2 separate regions of the Homo sapiens genome follow, and region 2 is linked to region 1. The links are contacts of gene promoters, found by promoter capture Hi-C in blood cells and fetal thymus (Javierre and others, 2016). All regions are on one chromosome and are shown on one strand. The core of a region is centred on a gene start or on the middle of the fragment in contact, and the rest is flanking DNA. Distances in the headings are between cores, read along the strand shown. Region 1 holds the start of TTC23L (tetratricopeptide repeat domain 23 like). Region 2 has its middle 34 kb from the start of RAI14-DT.

Region 1 (3,649 bases), core at 422-2,921:
CATGCAAAGCTCCTCACCCAGGTTTGCCTTAAGCAGGAGGTCCCAGTGTTTCAGCCCAGTAAGTACCTGTGATGTCAAAATGCTGTGATACTTACATATGGAAGCAGAAATCCCAGTCGATGTCATTGCTAACAGTTGGGATACGGATGGGGCTGGCTTGCATCTTCTTCCTACCAAGAATCAGGTAAGGTCAGCTTTGAGAGAAAAGGCTGGGTGTCTGTTCTATTTTCCCCCTCTGGTTTGCTATTAACATTAAACTAAAACTGCTCAAATATATAACCCATCCTAAATCCACAGACTACGCATACTTAGATATGGAGACCGCTGGAAAACAGACATTTGCCAAATTAAATGTCTAAGTTAAATTTCTTTCCCCTAATTTCAACTCCACCCTACTTCTCCAAAATCCCTGGCCTTTATGTCTCAAAGCAAGCACATTTACAGTTCCTGGGTCATCAAAACTATGGTCACCTACTTAACTCAGATATTGTTTTTGCAGGTCTGACGGCGTGTTGGATTTAAGCAAAGCAACCAACTCTCAGTGGTAAACGAAGCACAGCCAGTGTATTGGTTAATTCTGCTTTCCCCCCCCCCCCCGGGGTCATTTCACTAATTAATAGCAGATTCTAGTACAGGGGTCACGAGGCGGGTACAGAGGCTCACGCCTGTAATCCCAGCACTGTGGGAAGCCGAGGCGGGTGGATCACCCGAGTTCAGGAGTTCGAGACCAGCCTGGCCAACAGGGTGAAACCCCGTCTCTACTAAAAATACAAAATATAGTCGGCTGTGGTGGTGCACGCCTGTAGTTCCAGCTACTCGGGAGGCTGAGGCAGGAGAATCGCTTGAACCCGGGAGGCGGAGATCGCGCCACTGCACTCCAGCCTGGGCGACAGAGCGAGACTCCGTCTCAAAATAAAATAAAACAATAAAATGAAATTCATGTGTCTGTTTTAGTTGTTGCTGTTAGATGATAGGAGAAACCTCGGAAGCACAAAACGAAAAATGTGATTTCTAAATACAGTATTTGTGAAATTCAACTCTCAAGGAAGGCTATGCCAGTCGCTTAAATCAAACCCAAATCGAACGCAGTTACTTATTGAATGTTAACATCCACCAAGTCGCCTCTCCTTTCACCCTCCAGAATCACTAATTCCCACCGAGCCCTGAGTGGCTTTCTGACCCAGGCTCCAGAGCATCCATTATCCGAAAATCAGAAAGGGAGAGTCACTAATTTCTCTTTTTAACCTCCACTTTAAACACTATGCCCACAGCAAAGAGTTCTGATCTCTCAAACTCCCGGACTCTGTTCCTATGACGTTCCGCACGGCCCTGAGCCCCTCAAGGACGAATCGCTCCTCTTTTCCCGCTGTGGTTCTGCGGCAAGTCTGTAAGCCCTGACGCCGCAGGTCGAGCTCTGAGAGCCTCTCTGCCGCGGAGGCTCTAAGAGAACGCGCGAGTGCGCAAAGGGCACCTGGCTCAAGGCGGAGAAACCACGCCCCGGAACCAGCCTCCCAGCTCCCTGAGCCCGACGGCGCGGCTTCCTCCCGCTGCGTCGGCCTCCTGACCCTGGCGCACCTCGGTCCGGGCGCCAAAGCGGTGCCTCGCGAAAGCTGCACAGCCTGCGACGTCCCCAGTTACCTTCCGCAGCCCAGGTCCGGCCAAGGAGACAATACCGTTGCCATGGGAACGGAACGCTACGGGTTCTGCTGGGAGCGCCTGTAGCCATGGCGACGCGGGGCACTTCCGGTTCGGAGAGTCCCTGTTGTCTGGCGCCTACAGCAGCCCTTGCCTTACCCTCCGCTTTCCCTTCCCCGCAGGTTAGACGCGCCCGGCCTCCGGCTCGCCCCAAAACTGGCCTCTGCATATTGTATCTCACGAGACCTTACCCCTCGGAGGTGAAGGCGTAGGAAGAGAAGATACATTCCGTCCAAGGATGGAAGGGAGCGCCGGGCCCCACGGCCCTACTTATTTAAAGCTGCGACGTGTGCGGGCTGTATTCGGCGACGATCCTGGCCACGGTGCACCCCCACAGCTCCTCGGGAGTTTTGTTTTTATGGACCCCAGAGGAAAGGCTTAGATATGGCTGTTGACTGTGCTGGCACCGTCTGTGTTACCCAGTAAGATTGGAGCTAGGCATGGTTAGGAAAGCTGATTGCAGGAAGAGAGTAGGGTAAGAAATCGACTACTAGATCTGCTAATGGTTAGCTGTTCATTATTTATTTAGCACTTAGCCCTAAATAATGCAGCCATATCTTACCCTTTCGTTGGCATGGAATACAGTGTGTGTAATACACACAAGGTGCAGAGGCAATTGTGGCCATACCCAAAGAAACAGCGCCAGCTCTTGCAACGCTATGTTGAAGGATGTTATTATGAACCCTATCATAGACTAGGCCTATGGCAAGTCAAGTTGGAGTGAATGTGTCCCAGTTGTTTTCAGAAAAGAGCAGACTAGGTAGAGAGACAAGGAGAACATTGAGAATGTGAAAGATGGTGTTTACGTTTGGTGTTTGTTATTTCCAGCTCTAGGCTGGAAGTTTAATTGCCATTGATCCAAGACTGCCAAGAAAGCCTTTTTGGAGTTAGGTTGGAGGAGTTATTTAAATGAGTTTGCTTGAATATCTCTTAAGTAAAACCTGTATGGTCTGTTAACTCAAGATTTAAATCTGTACTTTCGAGCTCCATAGTCACAATTTTGGAAAGATTCCCCCACTTTATTCTTTTTCCTAAGAAAACTCTCAGCATGGAACAATGATGACAGCAATGAACCTGATTTCAGAATGTCAAGGTTCTGGTTTTGACTCTGTAGCCTGGGCCGAGTCACGGCCAGTGGGTCCCAATTTTCTTGCCTATACGGTGAAAGTTTTTGTACCACTTGCTTTCTGAAGCGCCTTCTGGTTCCAGGTTTCTGTAAGGGGTAAACGATTTTTGTGACTCTATGAACAGTATTTAACATGTATGGGAGTAAAAAGGAAGAACCTGTTTCCTGTTCTCCAACATTTATTTCTTTTACCCCTTGTTAAGTTGGTCATCAAATTGAAAGGTTTTAATGTTCTTTCATTCTAGGAAATGGCTGTGAGATTGTTTCTAAGTATATTAAAGGTAATGTCTCTTTTCTAAACCTTTGCTTTTGCTGATAATTGTGGAGAGAAGAACCAGAACAGGCACTGAATTCCCATTCCTAAAGCCAACGCTCTAATTCGGCCTCCATTTCATTAGCTCTGACCGGAAGCATGTTGCCTGCATCTGTAAAAATTATAAATCAAAATAAAATAACTTTGGCGACTATTTTTTTTCTTTTTTTGAGACAGAGTCTCACTCTGTGGCCCAGGTTGGAGTGCAGTGGTGTGATCTTGGCTCAGTGCAACCTCCGCCTCCCGGGTTCAAGCAATTCTGCTGCCTCAGCCTCCCGAGTAGCTGGGATTACAGATGTGTGCCACTACTGTCTGTCTAGTTTTTGTATTTTTAGTAGAGACAGGGTTTCACTGTGTTGGCCAGGCTAGTCTCGAACTCCTGACCTCAGGTGATCTGCCTGCCTCAGCCTCCCAAAGTGCCGGGATTACAGGTGTGAGCCACCGTCCAGCCAGAACTTTGAGGACTCTTGAAGTTTTTTGGTATTTCTTTCCTTGTCATGTTAACCCTGTCCCCC
Region 2 (3,649 bases), core at 707-3,206, 220 kb after region 1:
ACTTTGGGAGGCTGAGGTGGGCGGATCATGAGGTCAAGAGATCAAGACCATCCTGGCCAACATGGTGAAGCCCCGTCTCTACTAAAAATACAAAAATTAGCTGGGCATGGTGGCAGGCTCCTGTAATCCCAGCTACTCAGGAGGCTGAGTCAGTAGAATCGCTTGAACCCAGGAGGCGGAGGTTGCAGTGAGCCGAGGTTGTGCCACTGCACTCCAGCCTGGCGATAGAGCAAGACTCCATCTCAAAAAAAATAACAAATAAATAAAATAAAAATAAATAAATAAATAATTAAAAAATTGATTATATATTAGTTGTACGTATTCATATCTCCTCTTTTTGAGACAGGGTCTCACTCTGTCACCCAGCTGGAGTGCAGTGGTGTGATCAGGGCTCACTGCAGCCTCAACCTCCCAGGCTCAAGTGATCCTCCCACCTTAGCTTCCCAAGTAGCTGGGACCACAGGCACATGCTACCACACTCAGCTAACTTAAAAATTTTTTTTTTTTTTTTTTGAGACAGAGTCTTGCTCTGCTGCCAGGCTGGAGTGCAGTGGCGCTATCTTGGCTCACTGCAACCTCTGACACCCTGGTTCAAGCAATTCTCCTGCCTCAGCCTCCTGAGTAGCTGGGATTACAAGCATGTACCACCACACCCAGCTAATTTTTGTATTTTTAGTAGAGATGGGGTTTCACCATGTTGGCCAGGATGGTCTCGATCTCCTGACCTTGTGATCCACGCACCTCAGCCTCCCGAAGTGCTGGGATTACAGGTATGAGCCACCACACCTGGCCAAAAAAATTTTTTTATGGAGAGGAGGGTCTCACTATATTTGCTCAGGCTGGTCTTCAAATCCTGGGCTTAAGTGATCCTCCCACCTCAGCCTCCCGAAGTGCTGGGATTCCAGGTATGAGTCACTGCAGCCGGCCTCATGTCTCTTCTTATAAGGGAACTAATCCCATCATGAGGGCTCATCCTTCACAACCTAATTACCTCCCAAAGGCCCCACCTCTTAATAGTATCACACTGGGAAATAAAGCTTCAATTTATCGACTTTGTGGAGATACAAACATTCAGTCCACAGCACCCATGATGTGAGAAATCAAGTCAAATTAAAATTATAATGGGTAATAATGGCATTGCGATGTACTCCTCCCAGATAGCTCATGACATTTTAGGAGGAAGTTCGAATGAGCTAACTCACAGAAAAGAGCCTTGGGAAGAACTGCAGGCTGCTGTGAGAAAATCTGGAGCCAGCATGCTCTTTTCAAGGTCTACCACTTAAATGGTTGTCTGGGTTCACTTTATGCTCTCATTTGGGGCCACGATGTACCAAGTTAAGTTGTGAGAAAAGCCTGGATCATTTTGGGGCTTCCAATCTTCCCCTTTGGGCTCATTTCTTCCATTTTACATGCTTGGGTTGGGCATGGGACCAGCATCCTGAAAATGCAGGTGGGCTTCCCCAACTTGTGGGGGAGGCCCGAGAGGAAAGCAAGTTTCTCATTCTCAAAACCCAACTCAAGTCACCATGATACCTTTCATGTTTATGGTTTCCTTACATGAGGAAACTACTCAATCTCTTCCAGATCTTAAGTCTTACTTTCCTTCATGAGGTTATCTCATTTCCCTCTATTTATTTTCAAAATCTCCAAAAATAAAAGTTACTTCTAATATTCTCTTTTCTCACAACACTCTTCCTCCACACATTGCTTTAACTTCCATGGTCTAACCTAAAATAGAAAAGTTAAAGAAGGAAATACTAGTTGTCGGTATCAATTAAACAAACAGCAATTTAAAAAATTACAATAAAGATTTTCTGGTTTTGGTGACTTGCACCCTAAAATATTGGAAGGAATATCAAAGGATTGGAAAGTGGGGCTCAGTCCAACTGCTGGTGTCTGGGATTTAATGCTCAGACAGAGGTGGGTGGGGGAACCTCTTCCCTGCTTTGCAAAGGCAGAAATAATTCTCTGGTAACTCTTCTACAGGGAAGCTCTGTGGATAAGAAACCTCAAGAATGAAACACTTAATTATAACCAAACATGGAGCAAACAAAGAAACAAGAACTGAGTTGGGCTGTTTTATATGAATCCTGCCTACGAAAGGAGATTGCTCCTTCCAAGTTTTGTAAGAGATCAGTGACAAGCTGGAATTTTTCATTTCTGGGCTCAGTGAGAAGTTACATTTACAGAACCAACTTCATTTATGTTTTAAAAGCAAATAAGTTTAGGCTTACCACCCTGGTGAGCTCTGAGGCTGTTGAATATTCTGGGAACTTTCATATTGATAGAATATCATGACTGGGGGAAAATATTACAGTCATTTTCCTAACTCTAATAGTTTCCATCCCTAACCTCAAAAAGGAAGGTGAAAAATGATGAATGGGTGTGATGAGGATGTTGTTCCTGAGCCTTTGTTAGCAGTGCTGTGAGTTGTGCCAACGGCAGGGACCCAGGGAAGGGTTGGTGCTCAGTCTCCTCATTCTTTAACCTTGAACTCCTTTGTGTGACCACTTGTGTATATCAGGACTTGATACAACCTGCAGATGTGGAAAAGGGCATTCTTTTATTTTGTATAAGTCCCCTAGTTCATATGAGAAAGTAATGTTTCCTTGGCACTATGATTATAATTCTGATATTTATCAGGTGTCTAGTAGGAGCCAGGCACTTTACAACTATTATTTATAATCCTTATGACTCCCATTACACAGATGTGGAAACTGAGGCTGAAAGAATTCGAATGACTTGACCAAAACAATAGAGCTAGAATACGGCTGAGCCAGACTTTGGGCAAATTCCTCTCTGACTCCAAAACTTACATTCTTTTCTCATGCTATGTTGTCCAGGAAACTTGCCAGCCTACAGTGAAATAAGCTTTAGGTAAAGTATATTGAAAATACAGAAATGAGGCTGGGTGCAGTGGCTTATGCCTGTAATCCCAGCACTTTGGAAGGCCGAGGTGGGCGGATCACTTCAGGTCAGAAGTTTGAGACCAGCCTGGCCAACATGGTGAAACCTTGTCTCTACTAAAATTACAAAAATCAGCCGGGCATGGTGACAGGTGCCTGTAATTTCAGCTACTCTGGAGGCTGAGGCAGGAGAATCACTTGAACCTAGAAGGCAGACATTGCAGCGAACTGAGATGGTGCCACTGCACTCCAGCCTGAGCGACAGAGTAAGACTCTGTCTCAAAAAAACAAAACAAAACAAAACAAAACAAAAAAAACAGAAATGAGGCCAGGTGCAGTGGCTTATGCCTGTAATCCCAGTACTTTAGGAGGCAGAGGCAGGAAGATCACTTGAGGCCAGGAGTTCAAGACCTGCTTGGGCAACAAAGCAAACCCTTGTCTCTACAAAATAAAAAATAAAAAGAAATGAATGAGAATTTTAGAATTCTATCTGACAAATCTTCCCACAGTGTCTCTGGGTAGTCTACAAACCAGTAAAAATAAATTAAAGTTAATTACAAAGGAAAAATGAAGGTAATGTTAGAGACGCAGTCACTTCCGGGTGGATTCAAATTATCTGCATTTCTAGATCCTGCCATTGTTCACCCCCACTCACGCCCTCCACCCCAAGACACTGTGCAGAGGCCCCTCATGTTGGTTCTGATCTACACGTTGACCTCAGAACCTGACACTGAGGATCTCCA

What was found. Contacts are between HindIII fragments. The CHiCAGO score rates a contact against its expected background, and 5 or more counts as called.
Region 2: a contact is called between a fragment that was not itself captured here and the fragment with the promoter of TTC23L in region 1, in 1 of 17 cell types (total B cells). The highest score is 6.7, in total B cells.

Annotation. Positions count from the first base shown.
Region 1 is chr5:34,837,186-34,840,834 of GRCh38, reverse strand. It overlaps TTC23L (tetratricopeptide repeat domain 23 like), which reads right to left and starts at 1,671. Exons shown (of 11, transcript NM_144725.4): 1 at 1,576-1,671; 2 at 96-170. The coding sequence starts at 163. TTC23L-AS1 (TTC23L antisense RNA 1) reads left to right here and starts at 1,503. Exons shown (of 2, transcript NR_183259.1): 1 at 1,503-1,652; 2 at 1,818-3,288. RefSeq lists an enhancer at 1,272-1,381. The HindIII fragment of the contact is 6,317 bases long and covers 1-3,649 here.
Region 2 is chr5:34,620,614-34,624,262 of GRCh38, reverse strand. No RefSeq gene overlaps it. Among named protein-coding and RNA genes, the nearest start is that of RAI14-DT, 34 kb to the left of the region's middle. RefSeq lists a silencer at 2,958-3,318. The HindIII fragment of the contact is 1,834 bases long and covers 1,040-2,873 here.